3 separate regions of the Homo sapiens genome follow, and regions 1 and 3 are each linked to region 2. Evidence: promoter capture Hi-C in 16 types of primary human blood cells and fetal thymus (Javierre and others, 2016). All regions are on one chromosome and are shown on one strand. The core of a region is centred on a gene start or on the middle of the fragment in contact, and the rest is flanking DNA. Distances in the headings are between cores, read along the strand shown. Region 1 has its middle 57 kb from the start of ARAP3. Region 2 holds the start of RNF14 (ring finger protein 14). Region 3 holds the start of LOC124901092 (a long non-coding RNA gene).

Evidence for each region. The method cuts DNA at HindIII sites, captures the fragments that hold promoters and counts their contacts. A CHiCAGO score of 5 or more calls a contact.
Region 1: a fragment that was not itself captured here is called in contact with the fragment with the promoter of RNF14 in region 2 in 1 of 17 cell types (endothelial precursors); the score reaches 5.6 in endothelial precursors.
Region 3: a contact is called between a fragment that was not itself captured here and the fragment with the promoter of RNF14 in region 2, in 1 of 17 cell types (endothelial precursors). The highest score is 5.4, in endothelial precursors.

Annotation. Positions count from the first base shown.
Region 1 is chr5:141,736,557-141,741,065 of GRCh38, forward strand. No RefSeq gene overlaps it. Among named protein-coding and RNA genes, the nearest start is that of ARAP3, 57 kb to the left of the region's middle. The HindIII fragment of the contact is 4,778 bases long and covers 632-4,509 here.
Region 2 is chr5:141,967,569-141,971,677 of GRCh38, forward strand. RNF14 (ring finger protein 14) reads left to right here and starts at 1,537. Exons shown (of 9, transcript NM_004290.5): 1 at 1,537-1,599; 2 at 3,136-3,309. LOC124901095 (a long non-coding RNA gene) reads right to left here and starts at 2,212. Exons shown (of 3, transcript XR_007058977.1): 1 at 2,040-2,212. RefSeq lists a silencer at 1,320-1,459 and an enhancer at 1,570-1,719. The HindIII fragment of the contact is 2,297 bases long and covers 60-2,356 here.
Region 3 is chr5:141,720,347-141,724,200 of GRCh38, forward strand. LOC124901092 (a long non-coding RNA gene) reads right to left here and starts at 462. Exons shown (of 2, transcript XR_007058973.1): 1 at 1-462. The HindIII fragment of the contact is 3,076 bases long and covers 981-3,854 here.

The DNA.
Region 1 (4,509 bases), core at 1,771-4,270, 230 kb before region 2:
AATGCAGCAACTGGCTCAAGATCTCACATTGAGTAACTTGTGAAGCCAGAACTAGACCAAGATTTTTATTATCTGAGCAAAATTAAAATGTAAATCAGATAGTGCCATCCTCTGCCCAAATCACTCTCATGGCTTCCCAGTGCTTTTAGCAAGAAATTCTCTTCCTTTCCACGGCCAGCAAGACCATGTCCCTTTCCTCCACCTCATTTCTCACTCTGCCTCAGCACCAGGCCTTTTTATGTTCCTCTAGCACATGTGCTCATTCTCTTCTTAAAGCTCTTGCACTTGCTGATCTGCCTGCTTGGAAACCTCTTCCTCCAAATCTTTATAGAATGGCTTATTCTCATTCTTCAGGTCAAACTCCACCTCTCAGAAGGCCTTCCCTGACTGTCCAGGCAATAGCAGCCTCCCTCCTTCCCTCTCTACCCCTTCTTCCCAATTTATTTTCTTCACAGTACTTAACAGCATCCGAAGTTATTTATCTGTTCACTTGTTCATTATCTGTTTTGCCCACTAGAACATGAGCTCCTTCAGGGTACAAACTGTGTCTCTTTGGTTCACCATTGTATTCCCAGGGCCTGGTGCTTAATAAGTGCTCAATAAATGTTTGATGAATGAATGACTTCAGAAAAGCTTCACTAGACCCCAAGGGGGCAGTGAGAGGAAGGAGGACAGGCTGGGTAGAGCAGTCAGCTGCTGGGCTGCAGACCACATTGAGGCCTGACCACTGAGGCTCTGGGGTTCATCGGAGAGAGTCCATCTGCCCAGCTGTCATTCTGATCATGAGGTGGCCTGGCCTCCCTTCCAGCACAGCGAACACGTGTGAACACATTTCTTCAGACTTCGAGTGAAGCCAAGTGAAAGGGACAAGGCTGCCTGGTGTTCCTGGACCAGAGATGTATGCCTTTGGGCTCCCTACATGTTCCCAGCCTTTCTTTATTTTGGGTGAGGTTTACGGTGGCTCTGCAGCCCACCCTGCCTGCCCCCAGGGTTGCAGCAGGCATTGCCTGGCAGGGAGAGACTGCTGCTCAAAGAACCCGATCTTTTGCATTCACTGACATTCTTGGATTTGGCATTTACAACCTCAGGGCTCTATTCCGAGGAGGCCTTTTGCATTTGATGTAAATATTATGGTGATGAGAGGTGACACTGAGAATACCCTGTAGGAAATGTAAATCCACCCCCACCAGGCTGGGAGCCTCTCCCCACTGCTGCTTTGGGTTGTTATTCAGGGGACTGATTCCTTCCAGTTCTTGAGTTAACCCACAAGAGCCCGCTTCACGTGTAGGCAGCAGGGTCTAGGAGTAGTACATTAGTTATTTCTCTAATTTGCAGAGGCACATTCATCCATCAATGTGGGATGCAGTGGCAGGGCCAAATGGCCCTGCAGCCATTCATTAAGAGGAGGGATGTCTCCTCCAAGAGGAGGCTTGGGCAGTTAGCTCTGGAGGGGTGGGGTTGGGGGATCAAAGCTAGTAATGGGCACTGTATTCCCAGAAGTCAGCTACTCTCCCAGCTACTTCCTCATTGACTCCCGGTTTCTACTTGTCTCCCAACAGAGTTTAGCCCTGGATCTGTGTGTCACTCTAAGCACTGGGGACCACTTTCAGCTGCAGTGCCCCTTGGTGCCACAATTTTACTCTCTTCCCAAACTCCCAGGGAAATGATGTTCATAATCCCCACTGGCAATCATGGTGGGGTTCTGGGACTGGAGCAGCTGTGCCAAGATGGTTTGCAGGATCAAGGAAAGAGGTAACATCTTTACAATAGTATCTCTTTGATACGCTGTGTGGCTGGGGACAAGTGACTGAATCTCTCTGAGCTTTGGTTTCTATATCCTTCAAATAGGGAAGATAATACCTATGTCATATATGAGGATTACATCGGGTTATGTGAGCGCATGTAAGGGGCCTAACACAGGACTTGACATGCAGTGACTGCTCAAGAAGTAGGGGCAGGTTTTGTTGTTGTTGTTGTTTTGTTTTGTTTTGAGATGGAGTCTCACTGTGTCACCAGGCTGGAGTGCAGTGGTATGATCTCGGCTCACTGCAACCTCCACCTCCTAGTTCAAGCGATTCTACTGCCTCAGCCTCCTGAGTAGCTGGGACTACAAGTGTGCACCACCATGCCCAGCTAAATTTTTGTATTTTTAGTAGAGACGGGGTTTCACCATGTTGGCCAGGATGGTCTCGATCTCTTGACCTTGTGATCTGCCCGCCTCGGCCTCCCAAAGTGCCAAGGGATTACAGGCATGAACCACCGAGCCCGGCTGACGTAGGGGCAGTTATTATTAGGTACAGAGGGCTTGTGAGACATAATGCAGACCAAGGGGCAGATGCTGGCTTGCAAGCCCAGAATTTACACCTTTTTTCCCTAGTTGTGCCATGAACATAATATCTACAGTGACCAGTCATTCAATCAATAAGCATTGATTATTTGGATGTGTAATGAGTGTTTATTATTATCATCAGTAAGCTGGTATAGCATAGAGCTCAGATTCTGGAGTCAGAGAAACACAGTTCAACTCTCAGCTTGGCTACTAAATATTGGACTTTTCTTTTTTTTCTTTTTTTTTTTTTTTAGACAGTGTCTCACTCTGTCACTCAGGGTGGAGTGGTAAGCAGCACAATCACAGGTCACTGCAGCCTCGACTTCTCTAGCTCAGGTGATCTTCCCAGCTCAGCCTCCTGAATAGGTAGGACCACAGGCACATGTCACCATACCCAGCTAATTTTTTGTGTTTTTTGTTTTGTTTTGTTTTTGTTTGTTTGTTTTTTGTAGAGATGGGGTCTTGCCATGTTGCCCAGGCTGGTTTTGAACTCTTGGACTCAAGCAATCCACCCTCTTCGGTCTCCCAAATTGTTGGGATTTCAGGCGTGAGCTACCATGCTCAGGCACTGGACTTTGTTCAAAGTTTTGATTTCTCCATCTCTAAGAAGGAAGTGATAATAGAACCCATGTCAGATGTTGTGAAGATTAAATGGGATAGTGCTTGGCATATAATTGGTTCTTCATGAATGTTACAACAAAACATTTTGTGAGGCTGGGTGCAGTGGCTCACACCTGTAATCCCAGCACTTTGGGAGGCTGAGGTGGGCGGATCACCTGAGGTCAGGAGTTTGAGACCAGCCTGACCAACATAGTGAAACCCTGTCTGTACTAAAAATACAAATTAGCCGGGTGTGGTAGTGCATGCCCATAATCCCAGCTACTTGGGAGGCTGAGGCAGGAGAATCACTTGAACCCAGGAGAAGGAGGTAGCAGTGAGCTGAGATCGCACCATTGCACTCCAGCCTGGGCAACAGGAACGAAACTCTGTCTCAAAAAAAAAAAAAAAATTGTGAGGTGTAAGAGGAGACTCTGGATTTGAAATAAAAGATCTGGGTTTGGCCGGGCATGGTGGCTCACACCTGTAATCCCACCACTTTGGGAGGCCGAGGCGGGCGGATCATGAGGTCAGGAAATCGAGACCATCCTGGCTAACATGGTGAAACCCTGTCTCTACTAAAAATGCAAAAAAATTAGCCGGGCGTGGTGGCAGGCGCCTGTAGTCCCGGCTACTGGGGAGGCTGAGGCAGGAGTATGGCATGAACCTGGGAGGTGGAGCTTGCAGTGAGCGGAGATCACGCCACTGCACTCCAGCCTGGGCAACAGAGCGAGACTCCTTCTCAAAAATAAAAGAAAAGAAAAAGAAATAAAAAGATCTGGGTTCAATCTACTTCCATCCCCTATTTATTTACTGTGCCATCTTGGGCAAATCACTTCACCTCTATTTTCCAATCTACAGACAGGATACAATGTCACCTAGTTTCAGATTGCCATGAAGAAACCTTAACATTTGGCATGGAGGGGAAGCTCACTATTTATGTAATAAATGAACAAATGAATGAGGTAGAAAGATTTTAGGATCTGGATTCAGAGAATTTGCATTGGCATCCCAGGTTTATTGTTTACTTTCTGTGTAATGGAGGACAAGTGACTTCACCTCTCTGAACCTTGGGTCCTCTCAGTATAAAACAGGGTAATATCTATCCCCAGCATTATTGTAGAATTAAATTAGACAGTTAATATTAAAATACCTTGTAAACCACAGGGCACTGTGCTCGCTCTAGTTTAATATTACTTTGTGCAGAGCCCTGGGCAAAGAGCTATGAGGGCTCCAAAGATATGCAAAGTCCTTGCTCCTAGCCCTAGAGGAGCTATGATAGACTTGAGAAAGGAAGGCATGAAATGGGGGGCAGAGCTACACAGAGATTTCCACCCATTCATTGATTGCACACATATTTACAGAGTGCCTTCCAAACACTAGGCATGAAAGGTCTCCTGGAGATATTAGGTTAGGCCAGATGGAGGGGCCTTGAACGCCAAGGTAAGGCCTTTGGATTGACTGTTCCATGGGTAGAGGTTTCGGAAAGTTCACATGTCATCTATGCTCCTGAGTTCGCTTGTGAACCAGGACTCTGGCTTGCTGAGTCACTTCCCTCAGTCACTCTCTGAGGGCCAAATGTG
Region 2 (4,109 bases), core at 287-2,786:
TGACTGCACGGGTTGCTGGCCCATGAATCTAATCCTGCCCGGGAGGCAATGGTGGTAAAAGCTTTAGAATCCTGTAGGCTTGGGTTAGAGTCTTAGCTCTGCAAGTTACTCTTTTGGAGGAAGAAATATATGAAAAAGCGGACACAGGAGCTTATTAGATTGTGAGGAGCACATTAGTTTGATGGGTCCCAGGAGAAGGAGCCAACATTTCTGTATTCCACTTAAGCGCTGAGAACGGTGCTTTGTACCTAAAAAAATTTTTTAATTAAGACATAATTCACATGCAATAAAATTAACTCTTCAAAAGTATACAATCCAGTGGTTTCTAGTACACTCACAAAGTTATACAACTATCACTGCTCTCTAATTCCACAATATTTTCATCACCCAAGAAACACCATATCTATTAGCGGTATCTATTAGCAGTCACTTCCCATTCCCTCCTGCCTTAGTTTCTGGCAACCACTAAACTACTTTTTGTCTCTATGGATTTGCCTATTCTGGACATTTCATATAAATTAAAAACAATATATGGCTTTTTGTGTTTGACTTTTTTTTTTTTTTTTTTGAGACGGAGTCTCGCTGTTACCTAGGCTGGAGTGCAGTGACTCACTGTAACCTCTGTCTCCTGGGTTCAAATGATTCTCCTGCCTCAGCCTCCCTAGTAGCTGGGACTACAGGTGCCCGCCACCATGCCCGGCTTATTTTTTGTATTTTTAGTAGAGACGGGGTTTCACCATGTTGGTCAGGCTGGTCTCGATCTCCTGACCTCGTGATCCACCCGCCTCGGCTTCCCAAAGTGCTAGGATTACAGGCGTGAGCCACCGCACCCGGCCTTCTAAGGGTTTTATAGTTTTAGTTCTTACATTTAGGTCGTTGATCCATATTTAGTTAATTTTTGCATATGGTGTGAGGAAGGAAGTGTATAATTTTAATTCCTGCTTAGCCTGACGATAATCATGTGACCCTTGGTAAGTTCTTGCACCTAAGTCTCAATTTCCTTATTTGTAAAGTGAGAATAACAAATGGTAGCTAAATCATAAGATTACAGTGAAGATAGAAAATTTACGTAGAGCATTTATCACACTGCTTGAAGCATCCTAACTACTCGATAAATGCGGTCGGTGTTACAGTTATAACATGAGCGATGAATGCGTGCTTCCACAGTGGAGTGCCAGAAAGACCGGCAGCATTTCTGAGAAGGTAAACGGGAGGAAGTAGGCTTGCTTAGTCCACTTGGAGAAGCAGGTCTGGGATTGTTGTGAGAGTCTCTGCCCTAGGTAGACCACTGCCTCATGATCCCCTCTAGAGATTGGTAAAAATTCGAATTCTCGGGCCCCATCAGAACTACTGAAAAGAGCCTCCTGTGAGCACAGGGCTCGCAGTAAGTGGGGGTGACGGTGGTCGCGCCGGCAGCGCCGCCTTGGGCCTGCGGGAGGCGCCCGAGAGGCAGGGGCGACCACGGCGGCTGCGCAGAGTCCTCCCTATGCCGGCGGTCGCGCCAGCGGGATCCGCCTGGCTCAGCTGACAGCTCCCGAGAACGGAAGAGGCGGCGCGCCGGTTGAGCAGGGCGTCTCTAGGCCTGGTCGGCTGGCGGCGGTGAGTGGGCCCCAGGCAAGGGCGGAGGGCGGAACTTTGGGGTTCGGCACTGCCGGGCGGCCGGAAGGTACGGTGGGGATAGCTCTCTGGGCGCGCGAGGCAGAGAAGGGGACCGGGCTGGGACTGTACACTGGGCCTCAGTCCCTCAAATCCGGGACCGGGCGTCCGCAGCTCGGCTGGCCGGGACTCCCTTCGGGACGCTGAGGAGGAAGGGGAAGGTGTGGGCCCTGCTCCTTCGGGACGCCCCAGGCTGGCCAGCAGCTCACACATCCGCATTGCGCCCTCTGATCCCAGCGTTGGGGCGGATAGCTAGCGTTGGGCCTGCCCCTGTTTTGGGGCAGTCGCCCAAACGACGCCGCACGCCTAGTGGCGAGCTGAACCCAGACTAGGACACCCGAAGACCAAATGGATAGAGTGAGAAGGAAATGGGGGTTAGCAACCTGAATTGAGGTACTGGATTCCAAGTGACAGCTTCACAAGCTGAAATCTTGTAGGGTAGGTCATGAGGAACTGTTGAAACTGCTTGGAGTAGAAGTTCTTAGCCCTGGCTGCATATTGGAATCACCTGGAGAACTTGGAAAACTACTGAGGCCTGAATTAATTGTTCTAGGGTGTGGCCTGGGTATTGAGATTTTAAAAAACAGCTCCTCAGAAGATTCTAATGTGCAGTCAGATGGAGAACACTAACCTAAAACCATAAACTGCATGAATGAATCTCTCATCCCATTTGCAAATGTTTTAACAGGAAGAAACAAAAAGCTTAATTCAATTAGCACCATATACTCCCACCTAGTAAAATAAGACAATGTGAAAGGACCTAATACAGTACATAGTAGGTGCTCAATTAATGTAAATTGATTCTGAATCTCATTCTTATCTCATTTGGGAGTTACACATCCGAGAATCTGGTTTTTAATTATGGTTTTGTATATAGTATTTTTGCATATAATTTTAGGGTGTTGATAGGATTCTCCGTAGCCCATCTATAGACCACACTCCCTTTTCCCCTCACCCCAGTGAAGAAGCCTAGCTCTAAAGCATTTAGAATAAAACTTAAAAGTTTGTGTTTGTGTACTCTTGTTTTGTTTAAGTATTTTTCTGTTACCAAAATTAACCTTGAGTGCCACTGGCAGGCTTAATTCATGAACAAGAGAGGAAAAACTGGAGGGGAGTGGCAAATGAAGGAATACAAGAAGCAGAAGAGGAAAGGAGAAAAAAACAAAACAAAAAACAAACTGAAGAGATTGTTTGTTATGGGGCATGGTGTCCTGTACTTTCATATGACCTTGGTGTTCCTCCTTAGCTCCTCCCATAGCTGAGGGCAGACAGATAAAAAGTCCTCAGTCATTGCTGGGGACATGCAAATACTCCTTTAACCACATGGCTCAGTTAGCCTGCCCTAGGAGAGTAACATGCACTTGTAGATTAGGATTGGCTATATGTTAGGATATGTTTGACTTAAGCAGTGATCATGGAAATTCAGAATTTTAATTTGGAGAGGGTCCTAACACCATCTTTTGTATTTCTTTTCTGCAGATGGCAGGATTTTCATAATATATGTAGTATGAGTTCCACATCTTGGCCTCTTACCCAGCTTCAGCAGTCTCAGCTCCACCAGTTAGAGAATAAATGGGATTTGCATGAACTCCACTCTGAGCTGAAATACAGACTGCGGTGTTAATATCCTTTTCTTCTGATTGTTATTAACAGGTACTAACTGACCTCAAGTAGAACATGTAATTGTGTCTTAGATAGGGATGCAGCTTAAGCAGAGCCATGAACTAACATCTCCTAGAAAAAAAGTGTTTTTTGAAAATGAAATCATTTTTAATTTCATAGTATGACCTTTTAAAATGTAAAAAATCCTAACTTTTTACTTATGTACATTTTAATTAAAAATATTTTAGTTGTGAGGGAGGATATTTGCAAATGCAATTGTAGTTCAATATTTTAATTGACTGGTAGTTTTGTTTTATTAAAATGATTTTTGTAAATTCTCATTGCATATTTTTTTCACATTTAAATTATCTGAAATTGCTGTATCTTTCAGTTGATGCTATTTTAAAAAACATTGATTCATACTTTATTTTTTGAGACAAGGTCTTGCTCTGTCCCCCAGGCTGGAGTGCAGTGGTGCAAACACGGCTCACTGCAGCCTCAGCATCCAAGGCTCAAGCGATCCTCCTGCCACAGTCTCCTGAGTAGCTGGGACTACAGGCACACACCACCACACCTGGCTAATTTTTTATAGAGACAGGATCTTGCTATGTTGCCAAGGCTGATCTCAAACTGCTGGCCTCAAGTGATCCTCCTGCCTTGGCCTCCCAAAGTGCTGGGATTACGGGCATGAGCCACCATATCCAGCCAGTTCATACTTTAATTGTAGCTAATTTCTTTTTCTTTCTTTCTTTCTTTCTTTCTTTCTTTCTTTCTTTCTTTCTTTCCTTTCTTTCTTCTTTCTTTCTTTCCTTTTTTTTTTTTTTTTTTTTTTGGAGACAGAGTCTGTCTCT
Region 3 (3,854 bases), core at 1,269-3,768, 250 kb before region 2:
TCATCATTATCATCACTAGTGCAGTATGTACTCAAATCTATGACTCTCTTAAGTTTGAGAAGTCAGCATCTGTAAAATGAACCATTTCTGATTTTGTTTTAAAGAAATTCTTTAAAATTTATAAACATGAAATTCAGTAAAATAAAATTACTTTAAATCATGCAATTGTGCAGTTTTATAATAATCAGATCTATTTATTCCACATTCTCTTGAGGCTACAGGAAGTTTTGGAGATTAGGAGTTGGAAAGGGACTTGGTAAAAAGGGATACTTGATCATGAAACATCAGTCCTGTAATTCCTGGCTTAAGGGATAGCGCTCTCCAGAATAATATTACATATCAGGAAGACTGTTTAAGGCTTATTTCTTGTTGGTTATAAGAATAGGTGAGGGAAGGCCGGGCGCAGTGGCTCAGGCCTGTAATCCCAGCACTTTGGGAGGCCGAGGTGGGTGGATCACAAGGTCAGGAGATCGAGACCATCCTGGAGAACACGGTGAAAGCCCGTCTCTACTAAAAATACAAAAAAATTAGCTGGGTGTGGTGGCAGGCGCCTGTAGTCCCAGCTACTCGGGAGGCTGAGGCAGGAGAATGGCGTGAACCCAGACGGCAGAGCTTGCAGTGAGCAGACATTGCGCCACTGCACTCCAGCCTGGGTGACAGAGCGAGACTCCATCTCAAAAAAAAAAAAAAAAAAGGAATAGGTGAGGGAAGACTGTAAGGAAATATGTGCCTGAAAATCCAGGAAAAGATGAATAATCAGGCTACAAGATGAGCAGGAACTGCTGTAAATATAGGCTGTGTATCAGTCAGTGTGGGTTACATTATGTTGCAGTAACAAACAGTCCCCAAATCCCTGAGGCCTATGACAAATGTTTATTTCTCCCCTATATTACATATCTGTCATGGGTCAGCTGCAGCTCTGCTCCCCTGCTTTCTTCACTCTGGAGCCCAGGCCAATAGAGGAGCACACTGATTCTTAAAGCTTTCCCTCATATTTTATTGGCCAAAGCAAATCGCATGGCAGGCCTCTCATCAATGGGAAGTATGTTCCACTTTCAGAAAGGGCACCCAAGGGAGGAACAGCAAATATTTTGACCAATAACACAACTTTCCATACACATTGTAACTGAACTAGGTTATTTGAACCTCGGAGTGGCTTAGAGGAAGGACCTTTGGAGGAAGAGGTGGTAGCTCAAGTAATTTAGCTTCTCTCTGTGTCTGCCTCTTCTCCTCTCACCACCCATTTTCTATGTATTGTGGCTTTTGCTTTTGTGTCCCTCTTTTTTTTTTTTTTTTTTTTTTTCTGAGGTGAAGTCTTACTCTGTTGTCCAGGCTGGGGTGCAGTGGTGTGATCTTAGCTCACTGCAATCTCTGCCTCCTGTGCTCAAATTCTCCTCCCTCCTCACCCTCCTGAGTAGCTGGGACTACAGGAATGTGCCATCACACCCAACTAATTTCTTTCTTTTTTTTTTGGAGACTAGAGACTTACTCTGTCACCTAGGCTGGAGTGCAATGGCGTGATCTCGGCTCACTGCAACGTCTGCCTTCCATGTTCAAGTGATTCTCCTGCCTCAGTTTCCCAAGTAGCTGGGATTACAGGTGTGAGCTACCGCACCCGGCTAATTTTTTGTATTTTTGGTAGAGATGGGGTTTTGCCATGTTGGCCAGTCTGGTGTCGAACTCCTGGCCTCAAGTGATCTGCCTGCCCTGGCCTCCCAAAGTGCTGGGATTACAGGCATGAACTGCCACACCTGGCCTGCTTTTCCATCTTGAGATTCCTGTTTCCTCATGACTCTGGCTTCCCCTTATGGTCCTTTTGCCCTCTTTCTCCCTTATGACATTTTACCTTCTGATTTTGCCATTAATTAGCCAGAATTCTTTAGTGTCAATTGCTAGAAACCCAATTCAAAGTAGTTGAAGCAAAAGGGAAAAGAAGAAAATTTTTGGCTCATATATGAAAAATCAAAGGTAGAGCTGGACTTCAGCATGGCTAGGTCTCTGGGCCTTGATAATATTCTTGCCATCTCTCATCTATTCTTTCCACTGTGTTAACTACATCTCTGGGCAGACTTTCCCATCTTGTTGATGGGATGGTTGCTATGGCAGAGGCTCCTGGTTGCCTGACAACAGCTGTTCCCCTTTTCTTCCAATGTGGTAGAATATTTTAGTTGGCAAGATGGCCTTTCTTGCAATTAGTTGTGCTTTAGGACTAAATTCTGGCTAATCATACATGAGCAAAAATGATGTGTGTAACTTTTGGGCTGTTCCCCTAAAAGAAATTGTTGTGCTTCCCCTTCCTTTTTATTGCCTTCTGGCTGGCTGAAATGTGGTCATGGTGGTGGTAAGTGTCACCCCCCAGAGGGGGCAGAGCAACAAAATAGAAGGAGCTTGGGATTCTGAGAACTTTTGTGGAGCAGAACTACTATATCTACTTGAGCTTTTATATGAGAAAGAATTAAATTTTAATCTTGCTTTAGCCCTGTTATTTGGGCCTCTTTGTTACAGTAGCTTGATCAATATCTTAATTAATTCACTTCCCCATCCTGAGCCCATCATTGTGGTGAGAGGATAAAATCTACTGACTGGGTCAGGCCTGGGAATTAGGGTCTTATTGCAGAATCTGGGGTGAGACTACCTCACTTAAACTCTTAGGTGAGACTAGCTCATCTAAACTCTAGGACTGTACCCCAAGGAATATTGGGGTGCTATCACCAGAAAAACATGTGAAATGAGTGCTAGGCAGGCAAAAACAACACATGTCCATCACACCCTGTCAACTCCTCATTCTTCTTATGCTTGCCTGCTTAGATTCCCTAGAAAGACATTAGATTGGCCCAATTCATCTATTTCCTTTCACCAGGCCACTACTTATCTACCAGGTGACAGATAATGGCCCAATCAGCTGTGGCTATGGAGATGGGTCACCTGTGGCTACCTGTTTGGTAGCCGTGGTGGACAGAGTAGACAGCATAATTCACGTGTCTTCAGAGCCCTCTGTCTACTTGCTGTAGTGGGTGGGGTTCATGTTGAGGCCTGGGAGTAATTCAGGAAGTAGACTAGTGTTTTAGTCTGTTCGGGCGGCTATAACAAAATGCCATAAGCTGGGTGGCTTATAAACAACAGAAACTTATTCCTCGCAATTCTGGAGGCTGGGAAGTCCAAGATCAAGGCACCAACAGACTCAGTGGCTGGTAAGCGTTTACTTTGTGGTTCATAGAATGGTGCCTTGTCACTAGTCCTCACATGGTGGAAGTGGCAAAGCAGCTCTCTAGGGCCTCCTTTTTCATTTCTTGTGTGTGTGCTTTTTTTTTAAGAGATAGGGTGTATAAGGCCATTATCTCATTGCCATAAAGAAATACCTGAGACTGGGTAATTTATAAAGAAAAGAGTATAATTGGCTCATGGTTCTGCAGACCTTACAGGAAGCATGATGCTGGCATCTGCTCAGCCTCTGGGAAGGCCTCAGGAAACTTACAATCATGGCAGAAGGTGAAGGAGGAATAGGCACTTCACATGGCCAGAGCAGGAGCAACAGTTGGGGTTGGAGGTGCCACACCCTTTTAAGCAACAGATCTCATGAGAACTCACTCACTATCATGAGAAGAGTACCAAGGGAATGGTGCAAAACTATTCATGAGAAATCCACCCCTATGCTCCAATCACCTCCCACCACGTCCCACCTCCAACACTGGGGATTGCAATTCAACATGAAATTTGGGTGGGGACACATCACCAAACCACATAATTCCACCCCTGGCCCTTCCCAAATCTCATATCTTTCTCATGTTTCTAAATACAATCATGCCTTCCCCAAAGTTTTAACTCATTCCACCATTAACTCAAAAGTCCAAAGT